Regions from separate parts of the Homo sapiens genome. Here regions 1 and 2 are each linked to region 3. Evidence: promoter capture Hi-C in 16 types of primary human blood cells and fetal thymus (Javierre and others, 2016). All regions are on one chromosome and are shown on one strand. Each heading gives the region's core, a stretch centred on a gene start or on the middle of the fragment in contact. The rest is flanking DNA. Distances are from core to core; before and after follow the strand shown. Region 1 has its middle 20 kb from the start of OLFML3. Region 2 overlaps OLFML3 (olfactomedin like 3). Region 3 holds the start of SYT6 (synaptotagmin 6).

What was found. Contacts are between HindIII fragments. The CHiCAGO score rates a contact against its expected background, and 5 or more counts as called.
Region 1: a contact is called between a fragment that was not itself captured here and the fragment with the promoter of SYT6 in region 3, in 2 of 17 cell types (M2 macrophages and M0 macrophages). The highest score is 5.9, in M2 macrophages.
Region 2: a fragment that was not itself captured here is called in contact with the fragment with the promoter of SYT6 in region 3 in 4 of 17 cell types (M1 macrophages, M0 macrophages, M2 macrophages and 1 more); the score reaches 11.9 in M1 macrophages.

What each region holds. Positions count from the first base shown.
Region 1 is chr1:113,997,364-114,001,807 of GRCh38, reverse strand. It overlaps the pseudogene RPL13AP10. Among named protein-coding and RNA genes, the nearest start is that of OLFML3, 20 kb to the right of the region's middle. The HindIII fragment of the contact is 8,622 bases long and covers 1-4,444 here.
Region 2 is chr1:113,981,539-113,985,912 of GRCh38, reverse strand. It overlaps OLFML3 (olfactomedin like 3), which reads right to left. Exons shown (of 3, transcript NM_020190.5): 3 at 3,660-4,374. The coding sequence ends at 4,144. Among named protein-coding and RNA genes, the nearest start is that of OLFML3, 4.3 kb to the right of the region's middle. RefSeq lists enhancers at 1,643-2,606, 3,862-4,374. The HindIII fragment of the contact is 4,315 bases long and covers 460-4,374 here.
Region 3 is chr1:114,152,619-114,156,696 of GRCh38, reverse strand. It overlaps SYT6 (synaptotagmin 6), which reads left to right and starts at 2,828. Exons shown (of 8, transcript NM_001253772.2): 1 at 2,828-3,087. The coding sequence starts at 2,925. RefSeq lists a silencer at 1-110 and an enhancer at 1,040-1,653. The HindIII fragment of the contact is 4,368 bases long and covers 1,782-4,078 here.

The DNA of each region.
Region 1 (4,444 bases), core at 1,041-3,540, 150 kb after region 3:
GGACCCCCACCCTTCCTGGGCCCCCATATACCTGGTTTGGACCGCGCGAGGCCAAGCCTCCCAGGACCGCCTCAAGGTGTGTGCTGGGATCCCACGGCCCTGCGACAAGAAACAGCTGAAGGTTGTTTCTGCGGCCCTCCAGGTGGTATGTCTGAAGCCTACAAGAAAGTTTGCCTGCCTGGGGTGCCTGACTCACGAAGCTGGCTAGAAGTAGCAGGCAGTGACAGCCACCTGCAGGAGGAGAGGAAGGAAAAGGCCAGGATTTACTCAGGGAAGGAAAAGCAGCTCTTAAGGCCACAGAAACAGGCAGCAAAGAACATGGAGAAAACTGACAGATACGCAGAGGTCCTCAAGACCCATGGACTCCTGGTCTGAGCCCAATAAACACTGCTTATTCCCCCAAAAATAAATAATAAAATAAATAAACAACTAAACAAATCATCTTTTTTTTTTGGTTTTCTAACGTATATAAGTGTTATCTTTACAGTGTTATTTGTAGTAAACATAAATGGCCCAAAAAGAAGGGATCATTTGAGTTAATGATGGCATTTTTGTGTAGTGGAATGCTATGTAGCTAACAACAAAAAAACTTTTGAAGAAAAAATTATGATATGGGGGAAATTCTCATGCTATGTTAGTAATCTTTAAAAAGCATTTTCCCAAACATTATTTCTGATATTTCCAATGATGTAAAGCCAGAACAAAACAGAAGTATGTATTAAAAGTCTAGAAAGCTACATCATTGTGTGGTGGGTATATGGATAATTTTTTTCTTCTTCGTACTTTTCAGATTTCCTATAATTTACCTGTATTACTTCTCTAAATAGGGTATAAAAAGCAATAAATTGTCTTCCTAAAAGACAGACACATACTTTTACATGATATGTATGCTTTTAGAGCAAACATCACTTTGCCCCTGAGAAAAGGTCAGAGTTGGGAAAGGGCAGATGAACGCAAGACAGAGCCATTGACAATGAAAAATCAACTGTCAGGGCCGGCTACATAATTCCCAGGCCCTGTGCAAAATGGAAATAAGGAGTTCCTTTTTCAAAAATTAAGAATTTCAAGACAGCAACAGCAGAACATTAAACTAAGCTCAACCCCTTCTAAGTGCAGGGTTCTGTGCACCTGCACAGGCCACATGCCTAGGAAGCTGGCCCTAGTCACAAGTTTGAAGCAAGACACCCTGACCCAGCAGGTGAGGGTTTATAGACAGGTACACACCTGGAGGAGTTGACAGGAAGTCCCTCTGCCTCCTCACCTGTCACTGAGCAGAGTTTCATTCTTCATGAATTCAGCTTCCTAGCAATCAACCTTGGGAACAGGGACATACTTTATTACATATATATGCAAATCAGAAGCCAGCCCAGATTACTCAAACCCTAGATCAAAACCTCTTATTTTTTTTAAGGTTGGCTGCCTATTTATTCTATTTTAAGAATACCAGAAAGATGCCAAGCTATCTTCTACCCTGAAATTAATGACAATCCCTAACTAGAACGGAATATGGGATTTTAAAAAAAAAAAAAGATTTCTGATTATTTTCTCTCTAGACTCATCAAGAACCCTGACTTGCAGAGAATTATGGTCTTTCTCTGGTCCAACATCCTTTTTTTCCAGTTTCTTCTTTTTGGGTGCAGAAAGAAAATTCATTAACAAATTCACTACAGAGCATTATTCATTTCTCTTGTCTCGCTCAGGGGTTTTTAATATCAGGAGGTATAGTAAATCACCCCTGAGTAGTGATCACATGCGTTGGAGATCTAACAAGGTCCACAGAGCAGCCCTCCTGCTAATAAGCAAGCACAGATAAGATTGGAAGAAGCATGTTGATTCCTCTCTTCTAAGGGGGAGCAAACTCATTACCTAACCCTTGGATTAAATTAGGTGCAAAGCAAATCTCTCCCTTTGCAACCAGTCACAGCAGCTGCCTGCCACAGAAATGCAAACAAATCAGATACAAACCATAGCCAGCCACCTGCCTGAGCCTGAGTTGGTGAAAAATGGTTGCAGAATTGCTTAGGCAGAAACGTGCACACTAAACTTCTGCCTCTAACTTCTCCAGGAGACTTCACCGGAAGCCAAGTTAGGGGTGGGCGGAATGAGGCAGAGCCTCACTTCTACTCCGCATCCCGATGGCCAGGAGAACCCCTCTTGTTTTCTAATTGCAGCTTGTGGAGGATTGCCACATGGCCAGCCATTCCGGTGTCTTTGAACCTCTTCCCTTTTTGACCTGACCTCTTTTTTATATTGCTAAAAAATATAAACAAAATTTGAATGTTGGAAAATATCGAGAAGGGCATCTAGTTCTACTCCTCATCTAATGCTTGCATTCTCTGTACAGCTGTGCCCAACATTCATTCAGCCTTTGCTTGAACACCTCCAGTAACAGGGAACTCACTACCACCAAAGGTAACACAAAACATTTTGTCATATGGCTGACTGTTCTTCCTTTTGTTAAGTGGAACTTCTTTTTGTGTGATTTACATCCATTGAGCCTATTTCTACCTTTTATGGCCAGATCAAAAAGGGCCAGTACTGTCCCTTTGCCTTATGATGGCCTTTCTGCTACTTGAAGATACCACTCTTATTCCTTAGGTCTTTCTTTAGTAGGTGTTATTTTTCTCCTTTCTCTAAGGACATTGGCATGTAACTGAAACTCTTGGAGGCTAAGTTTTCTTATTTGTAAAATGAAGATCATATTATCTACCTCTTGGGATTGTTTTGGGGATTAAAAAGAATGCATGCAAGCATCTCACGGGAGCTGGCACATAGTAGGTGCCTAATGAATAGTAGCAGTTATGATTATCACCCTTACCTGGGACAGAAAAGAACATTGCTTCTTTGGCCTGACCAGAGCAGAATAACACAGGACTGTTTGCTCTCCTTCACACTAATGTGCTCCTACTAACGCAGCCTAAAGAGTATCATCATTTTGAGCAGCCACACCACATGGTACCTACTTATAGAAAACTTACACCAACCAACATCCTTAACTCTTTTCTGCTTCAAACCTATCATACAATTACAAGTAATTGTGAATTGGGAAGATATCTATCAAGTGCACATAGTAAGGCCTCAAAAAAAAAAAAAAAGCAGCTGCTAGTTGTTAGTAGTTGACAAATATTGTCCAGAAGGAAGAGAAAACGGAGATGCTGGCAATGAGAAGACTGGCTGTGGGTGCACTGCAGATTCCAGCGGCTCCTCGCTTCCTCTCTGCCATATTTCAATGATCTCTTACTGGCTTCACGCCAAATTCACATCCTGCTCTTCTCTCTTCAGACTCTGAACCACTTCCCATCCTCTTTCCCTCTGCAGTTCATTTACTATTCCCTTCTCAACAAGATTGGGATTTGTTCTGACATAAACTCTGTTTCCACTTGCTATCTGTCCCCTTGCTCTGAGCTCTGAGAAGCCTTGTCCCTTCTCCTTCCTCCTCTTCCTCCCTCCTCCTAAGCAAGCTCGTTTCATTCTCCTCTTTCTCCATTACATCTTTAGTCTCTGCCTAGCTCCTACCTTTTCCCTTAAAAAAAAATAAGTTTTCTTTTTTGTTATATTATTGTCTGGTGTTGGTATCAGAGTTATGCTAGCCTCATAGAATGATTACGAAGAATTCTGGCTGTTTCAATTTTTGGAATAATTTGAGAATTGGTATTAATTCTTCTTTAAAGGTTCAATAGAATTCAGCGGTACAGCCATCCAGTCCTGGACTTTTCTTTCTTGGGAGGTTTTTTAATTACTGATTTAATCTCGTTACTTGTTATTGGTCTGTTCAAGTTTTCTGTTTCTTTTTGGTTCAATCTGAGTAGGTTGTATGTGTCCAGGAATTTATCCACTTCCTCTAGGTTTTTTGATTTATTTGTGTGTAGCTATTCATAATAACCTCTAATGAACCTTTGTATTTCTGTGGTATCTGTTGCAACATCTCCTTTTTCATTTTTCATTATATTTATTTGGGTCTTCTCTTTTTTTTCTTAGTCTAGCTAATGGTTTGTCTGTTTTGTTTATCTTTTAAAAAAAAATCACATTTTTTTTCGAAATAGGGTTTCACTATATTACTGTATTGCCCAGGCTGGTCTTGAACTCCTGGCCTCAAGTGATCCTCTCACCTTAGCCTCCCAAGTAGAGAGGGATTACAGGCATGAGCCACCATGCCCAGCTAAAGCCAACTTTTTGTTACTCTGAACAAAAATTTTTTTAGTCTCAATTTTATTTATTCCTTCATTGGTCATTATTATTTCTTTTTTTTAATGTTTTTTGGACAGAATCTCACTCTATCGCCCAGGCTGGAGTGAAGTGGAGCGATCTCAGCTCACTGCAACCTCTACATCCTAGGTTCAGAAGATTCTCGTGCCTCAACCTCCCAAGTAGCTGGGATTACAGGCGTGTGCCACCACACTTGGCTAATTTTTGTATTTTTAATAGAGACAAGGTTTCAGCATGT
Region 2 (4,374 bases), core at 1,368-3,867, 170 kb after region 3:
AATAGCATGAGTGATCTGTGCATTAAGGACATGCTCCTGCTGCAGATAACTAGCCCAACCCATCCTTTTATTTCTGCCTATCCTTTTGTTGCCCATAAGGAATACTTTTAGTTAATCTATAATCTATAGAAGCAATGCTAATCACTGGCTTGCTGTTAATAAATATGTGGGTAAATCTCTGTTTGAGGCTCTCAGCTCTGAAGGCTGTGAGACCCCTGGTTTCCCACTCCACACCTCTATATTTCTGTGTGTGTGTCTTTAATTCCTCTAGCGCTGCTGGGTTAGGGTCTCTCCAACCGAGTTGGTCTTGGCAGTCCTGGAGAGGTATGGTCAGAACCCAAGTTCTGGGGAGATGGTGCTGAGAGTTTTGCATTTTCACTTCTCACTCTGCCCTTTAAAGTAATACATAGGCTTCCACATTTATAATTCTGTGGAGTTATTAAATCCAGAAATAAAGCTTTACTCTTTTAAGCTCTGCATTGTAAAAGCAGAAGTTAAAGACCAGGCAAAGGAAAGCTCACCAGCCAGGCTGAGGGGTCCACAGGGCCTGCAGAGGCCACAGCTGCTAACAGGAGCTAAGGCCACAGGACAGACCCTACTTTCCAGCCGGAGAAATAGAAAAGTTCTCCTGGACCACAGACCACACTAAACTGCAAAGGCAGACACAGAGAGGCTGGGTGGCAGGCCCTGAAGAGACCTATCCTGAAGGCCCTGAGAAATACCAGGACAGTCTCAGCAGCTCTCAAAATGGGCATGCTTTCCTCTAAACCAGGTAGAGGAGTGGGGAGCAGTGGAAGGGGATGCCCCCAGGAGCCTTGGGGAAGGGGTGCCTGTTCAAGGAGAGATGAGAAGAGGCCCAGAAAATCTGAGACTGGAGGAGGAGGAAAAGGAGGGCTTGGTTTCTGTTTAGCTCAGAGCCCATCCCAGAGGAAACATTGACAGCTGAATCAACAACTTCTTCCTGTCCATCTCTGCCCTGTCCCTCTCCACCATCCAGGGCGCTCACAACACCGGCTCAGCTTCCTTGATTAAAATGAACAAGACAAACACTTTGGATTCGCTGGCAGGCAGATACTAAGACCAGCATTGGAGAAGAGAGGATATTGAGAACAAGGAGGGGAGCTTAGGAAGTAAAGCAGGAAACCCTGAGGCCCAGTGTGGCGGAGAGGGGAGCCCTCTCAATACTGCCTTGGGGGAGCCCTCTCAATACTGCCTTGTGATGGAGAAGCAACATCTGGACCTAAGACCTAGCAGACAGCTGCCTCCACCACAGCAGCCCCTCCTGGTTCTTGGTGCCCTTCCCACATCCCCATCCTTGGGTGTTTACTGTACCACCCAATGGCTAGGCACTGGGGCATATGTGGGACTTCTCTTTGGGCTTTTAACCCCTCTCTCCTCTACTAGGCCCTTTGCCTTCCACTGTCTTTTGTTCAACAAAATCAGAGGTCATAACCTATTTCTGCCAAGTGATGGGTTGTGGAGGGTCTGATGGGGGTCTGAGGCTACTTGTGGATGATAGGATTTAGCTACCGGTGCTGTCTCCTGGAGCAGCAGATAATTTAGTTTAATGAATTTGGACAGTTCACTGGATCTGCCCACACAGTTCTACTCACCTTCCATAATGCTTCCAAAATAGCACTAGCTGTTGCACAGGAGCCAAAAAGAAGGAAGAGAAAAGTAATAAACGACAAGGCCCCAGAGATTTCTGCCCTTTCAGAAAAGCCTGAATGAACTTTTCCACAGAAATTGTAAGCCAAAAAAAGATATGCTTTTTTTCTTTCTCATGGAGGAGGAATCAGGCAAAGATAGATGCCACAAAGACAAGCACACACATGCAACGCGGAAGAACCTGGTTACCTGATTTTCATGGAAGTAATAAGGCGTTAAGAATGTACTTCAAATACATATTCCTTGACGTCACTTATACACACGGAGTCTCAGGTTATGCTCTCATCAAGGGCATCAGAGCCGCTCCTGGTGTTTGGTGCTCTAACAAGGTAACTCCAGAGACACGGCCTGACCCTACAGCCTCCTATCACACACTCATACAGCCACACAAGCTAGCAGACAAGCTCCCCTGCCACATGCAGGCACATATACACATACACGTACACATACGCAGTCACACTAGGGAGCAGACAAGCACCTCTGCCACACACAGGCACCTCCCACCCCCAACACACACACACACACACACACACACAGTCACGCTAGGGAGCAGACAAGCTCCCCTTCCACATGGGGCACCCACAGTCCCCACACTGCTCTGCCAGCCGTGTGGCCCAGACCCCATTCTCCAGGCCTGTGCTCAGAATGCCCTTCCCCCTCAACCCCTCCCTGTGCACCACGTGTGCCGCAGCCAGCTGTTCTGTGGGCAGACCCTTCCGTGGGCTGACAGGTGGTGATTACTGTTGCCAGCCCCACATTAGGAGAGAATTCAATGGGAGAGAGCCCCTGCCCGCCCCGGTCTCCCTATAATAGCGCCTTTCTGAGGTGCTTCACTGTCTTTCTTTCCCCATCCTCATCAACCTACGTCTGGAGCAGCTCTGCCTGAGGAGAAAAGAAAAGAAGATAAAGGGAGGCTCACAGGGCCCTGACTGAGCCACCCCACCTGGGGCGGGAAGGAGGGCTGTGCTTTGGGGAGAAGGCTGTGCCCCCTTCCCGCACTTGGCTAGAGCAAATAACCAAGAGGACCCCCAGGCATGCCTGAGGTGGACTCCTCATGAAAGCAGTGGATCCTGCCCATCAGCCAGCCTTGCCCCTGCGAGCTGAGCATGCAGCAGTGAGGGTGAGGCTGGGGTGGGGGCCTGGTGCAGAAATCAGCAGATTCCTGGAGACTGGAGTCCAAAGCCTGGAGCCTTCCTCCTCCTCTCCCTTCTCCCTTCCCTCTTCCCCACATTACGCTCTGCAATCCAACGCCAGAGGCCAGGGTATGGGCCAGAGAGGGTTAAGTTTCCAGAAGTCCTGACGGGCTTCAGCCAGGTTCAGGGCTGGAGTGGGTAGGTGAGGGTGATGAGAGTGGAGAAAAGGAAAGCAAGAATAGGCTGCAGACCGTGTAAGGCCAACATCTGGGACACGGTCACTGCCCCTCCTCCCTGCACAAACCGCAGACGCCGTGGCAGCAGGAAAATCAGAGCGGTCCAGACCAAGAATGATTGTGCAACCTGGCCCTGCAGGAGCACAACGCTGGAGGTGGGAGTGGAGGTCTGGGGTGCGGGGCAGAGTCCACTTTAGAGGGGAGACTTCAGTTCTTACTAAAAACACAGGCATTCAGGGCTCTGGTTTCCACACTAGAATGCAATGCAACTAACATGCATTTTGTAGTTCAAAATCCTCTGAGAATCGGAACTGGAATCTCTGCCCTGGGCCCCAGTGTCTCACAGCCAGAGGCACGGTGCCACTGAGGTTCTAGGATGGCTGCTGTGGATTGGCTGCTGTGGATGGCGGTGGGTGTGGAAGGAGGCCTTTCGTCCAGCCTCCTAAAGTGGCGGGATTCTGCCACCTCCCCCAGGCGCCTCACAGTAAACTCTTCCTCAGCAAAGGGAGCCCCGCCCAAGTCTTTAATATGGCTCAAGGAGTGGGGATGGGTTGGGAGGGAGAAACTGGATGGTCAGGGGGAAGTTTGATCTGAGGGCTACCCCAAACAAACACAGGAGAGGAGCAGTGGATTTTCCTTTTAATGCAAAATGTTGCAATACAAAACAATGTGGAGAAAGTCCTGTTCCTCAGGACACTGAAGGGAGGAGTGAGGAAGAGAGGACAGAGCTGGACGTCTCCTCCTATTTCTCCCTCCCCAAGTCACTCTGAGGGGAAGAACACTGCTGCCTGCTCCCTGGGCCTGCCCGCATACAAGGTTAGAGCCCTGGGTCTGGGGCATCCTTAGCCTGAAATTTGTTGACATGGGGCAGGAGAGCAGGAGGGAACATTGAGGGTTTTGACTCTTCGGGCTCTAAAAGGATTACTCAGGATCTGGAGTTCCGTATGAAACAAAGGAGCTGAAAGAATTTGATTGCCATTGGCTAAAAATATAGAGGATTTGAGCCACAACTGGCCCACATTTGAAGAATGAGGAACAAGAAATTTAGTGGGGATATAATATAAATGTATGGGAGTGAGAAAGATGCAAAAAACAAGGCTAGCTCCTCAAACCTCCTCCTCTTTCTTCCTCATCTCCAGCTTATAGACAATCTGGTAGCCATCATCCCAGGCATAGAGCTGGCGTTCTCGGGGGTTATAGCGGAGGCTGGCATGGGCACCATATCTGCGGGGAAAATAAGGGAGTGCTGCCCGTTCAGGGGTCAGGGTGCCGCTGGCATCAAAGGAGCACTGGATGCGGGCCCGACTGGCAGGACGGGTGTTATAGACGACATAGAG
Region 3 (4,078 bases), core at 1,579-4,078:
ACTGTCTCTGCTCCTGCTTCTCTCCTCCCCACCCCTAAACCCAAACTCAGAATGGGATTTCTCTGAGAGATAGAATTGAAGGGCAACAATTCCACTTCTTTCCACCTCTTTCCCTCTCTGGGTTTGAGTGGGACCCTGGATCCTCCCTCCCAGCTCTTGGTGGGACCCTGGGACTCTGAATTTTATCTCTTCATATGGGAAGAAGCAAAGGTGTGTTTGGGGGTTGGGTTTGCAGGGCAAAGGGGTTTGAGAGACAAAAAAGTTTCCATCATTACATGAAGAATTTTTCTGCTTTGTGGCTGGTTATGTGACCACAGTGGTATCAGCAATTGACCTGGGGGCTGGGGGAGGTAGCGGGCTAAAGAGGACAACTAGGGTGAGGCTTTACCTTAATGTCTCCTTCTGAATGTGTGTTTCTTTACCTGTACATCTGTCTCCCTGTCTGTTTCTCTGTTCTCTATTTCCTATAACTGTCTCTCTGTATCTCTGTCTCATCCTCTGTCTCTCTCATTTGTATCTGTCTCTTGCCTCTATTTCTGTCTCTGTTTCTTTCTCTCTGTCTCTCTCATCTCTGTCTCTCCCACACACGCTAACTCCTACAATCCAACTTCAATAGCTATTGACTGACCCAGGGGCCCTAACCTGTTTCTGCAGCCCTATCAGGGCAGCAGCTCCTTCACACTGCTAGATTGAGAAATGCCAGGTCCGGAGCTGCTGCCGGGGCGCCAGAGACGCTGCAGAAGCGCCTGCCGAGTGTGGAGGCTGAATCCAGGAACAATGAGAAATTATCTGTTAATTCTCGGCTCCTGCCACCTGCTCTGCTCCAAACAAGCTCCTTTGCCTTCAGTTTAGATGCAAATTCCCCCACTCGATGTAAGCAAAATATTGATTTCCCTGCATCACAGGTCTGGGCCCTTGGAATGGTCCTGTGTTTTTTCATTCTCTGCAAAGGCAAAACAAGGTGCTTTGTTCTGTGAATTTCCCCCAGGAACTCGCGAGGGGGAGGGAGAAATAGCAGGGGAGTGACAGAGTTGCCATAAACACGGGCAAAGAGCAGTTCTCCATTTGTATTTTACATAAACACAAACCTGCCACTTGGGAAACTGCTAATAAGCGTTTAGCCAGAGGCTCTTCTGGGTGCTGAGATCTGCATCGGGTGATGGAAAAGAAATTAATGGGGCCTCTAGGCTCCTCAGGTGGGTTTTCAGAAGCACCAGGAAGGCGCATAGGGATGCCAGAGCCCCACTTGTTCTTGGAACAGCAACCAAACACCTCCAGCAGGAAGGCAGCCCGGATTGCACAGTATCGCCTGCGTCGTGTCTGCTTGGTCCCTGCCTGAGTTCCTAGCCTTCTGCTATCACAGGCACAGGGGTCAGGGTGGAAGCTGCGAACCTTCAACAATTGCCTCTCCCTCGTCCCCTAAACTTATGCCCACGCGATGGTAGCACCAACTGGGTCTTCAGCACCGTGGACAGAGCCAGGGGGCGCCTCACGGTGGAAAAGCCGCCTGGCTGGGCCAGGGTCCTCACAGGCCTTGCCTTAGCCCTTGGTGCCCCAGGCACCAGCTGCTAGGGGATCGCAAGTCCAAGGGCCGGTTGGCACAGATGGCGCGCAGTGGAGACCGCCAGGAGCTAAGGCTCCGAATCTCCTCCCTCCGGAACGTGAGTCACTGCCCGAGTCACTTCCAATAAGCGTGTTAATTAAGAGGCAAGACCTTTCTCCCTCGCCAGCCACTCGGGCATACACCAACCCAGCAGCCTCCAGGGGCTGCAGCTAAAGCTTCCTTCCCAGCTCCGGGAGAGCAAATGGACCTGAGTCTGGGGCTTCAGGCGAGCCCCACACAGAAGGGGCCCCACCGCCGACAGGTGTAGATCAAGAGACTCCCGAGATAGGCCCCTGCAGGGCGCTGGTCCCCCGGCCTCCCTGACCATGGCTCACAGACTTCCAGCGCTGAGTGAGGCAGCTCGAAGCCTCTCAGCCGATCTGTTCCTGGGCCTCACTCCACAGTTTCTGAGGGGATCTCTACTTTAAGTCTAGCCTCAATCCTCCCGTTGAGCTTTCTGTCTTTCTTGTTATGCTTAGCAGAAAGATACATGATCTCTGGTGCTGTTTCACCGAAGCAAGGAGGTGGGTCGGCGGAACTGAGCGCCCTGCGCCCTCTTGAAATGACCCCCCATTCCTGTTTGCCAGAAACTTTTCCCTCCCGTTGCCATGGAGAGAGACGGCCGCTGCCTCCCGTCGCCATAGCAACATGCGGGTACCGCGGACCGCAGGATTGCGGAGCTCGGAAAGTCTTGCAGTTCGCATCGCCCGCCTGTCTTGGGGTCTTCTACCTCCGAAGCTGGGACTCGGGGGCCAGTCTAACTGCTCCCGTCAGGAACCTCGGCCAAGGTCCTCCCAGACCCTGCCTGACCGTCGCTCTTTCTGTTACGGGGTTATCTATTTCTCTGTCATTCGTGTGGCATGTGGCAGTTTACCCAGTGTTTTCACAAACACGATCTTTCTATCCCCAGGGAGTCCGTGAAGTACTTAAAATCATTACACCTCCTTTACGGAGAGGAAAATTGAGGCTCAGAGACGCCCAAGGTCACACCAGGCAGTGAATGCGGAGTGGGAACCCGGACTCTTTCCTGGCCTTGCACCCTCCGAGATTCGGGACAGCCCGGCTTCCCGCCTCGAAACCCCCACCCCCCGGACTCAGGCCAGTCCCTGAGTGTAGAGGGGGCGGCCGCGAGGCGCCAGACTCGCCAGCTGCCGCGGGATGCCACGTGAGGGGCGGGGACCCTGCGGGGAAGTGATTAAAAGCAGAGCGGAGCCGCAGGGGGCCGCTGCAGGGAGGGTCTTCTTGGGGCCGTCGTGCCCCGCCCCAGTGCGGCCGGGGCGCGGGTTCGAGCTGCTGCTCGGCAAGCCTGGGTGTCTAGGGCATGAGCGGAGTGTGGGGGGCCGGCGGGCCTCGGTGCCAGGAGGCGCTCGCGGTCCTCGCCTCGCTGTGCCGGGCCCGGCCGCCCCCTCTCGGGCTGGACGTGGAGACTTGTCGGAGCTTCGAGCTGCAGCCCCCAGAGCGGAGTCCCAGCGCGGCAGGCGCAGGTAACGGGAGACCCAGGGCCCCCTCCCTTCCTGGATATCCGTCCTGCGATCTCCCTTCCCCAAAGCCCCGGTCCCAGGAGCCCCAGAACCTAGAGAGAACTCCCCAGCTCGGGATTCTGGATTGGGAGCCAGCCTCGTCCAGCCCTCTGGCCCATCGCTTGCACAGCCAGGAGAGACCCGAAGGGGAGCGGAGGTTGGGGTAGAAGCCCCCGGCCCTCCTGTATTACTACTGCGGAATGCGGGGGACCCCGCAGACAGCCAGGCTCCCAGGACGGGGCACCCTTGGGGCTTCAGTTTCCCTCGCATCTCCAAGCTCGCTCTGCGGGCGATTTGCCAGGAGAGGGGTCCATGGAGAGAGCGGGAGACGAGGGGCGCCCGGCTGAGGAATAGGGCTTGCCTCCTAGCGAGTGTCGAGGTCCCCGGGTCCGTGCGTCGGTCTGTCCGTCCGTTTGTGTGTTCTCGCGGTGAACGCGGGCGGACCCCCAGTCTCTCCGGGAGAAACTTGGGTCTGCGGCTGGCACGAGGTCTTTGTGTCCGGGTGTCTCTCCGGCTGCGAGTGGTTTTCCGCGTCTCCGCTGGGGGGCGGGGGACAGGGGGCGGGGTGGGGGAGGGTATGAGGGTGTTGCGGCGTCCTTCCCCCACCCCCTCTCGCCCCTATAACTCGCTCCCTCCGTCCCTCTCGGACTCGGACTCGGGGCCGGTGCGCGACTGAGCTGGCGCCTCTAGCCGACTTTGCCAAGAGGGCGCCTCCTGCCCGATCCGCGCTGACCCTGCGCGGGACGCAGCCCCAGGCGGCTGCCTAGCCGAGGCGGGAGCCCGAGCTGAGTCGAGCTCGCCGGAGCGGGTGAGTCCCGAGCCCGATCCCCGCCGGGCTGGACCCTGGCGCGCAGCTGCGGCGTCTCCGGGGAGTCGCGGCAGGGGGAATGGCGTGTCGCGCCCTGGCGGCGGGAGCTGCGGGAGGGTCGGCGACGTGGCGGCCGGCCCAGGGTAT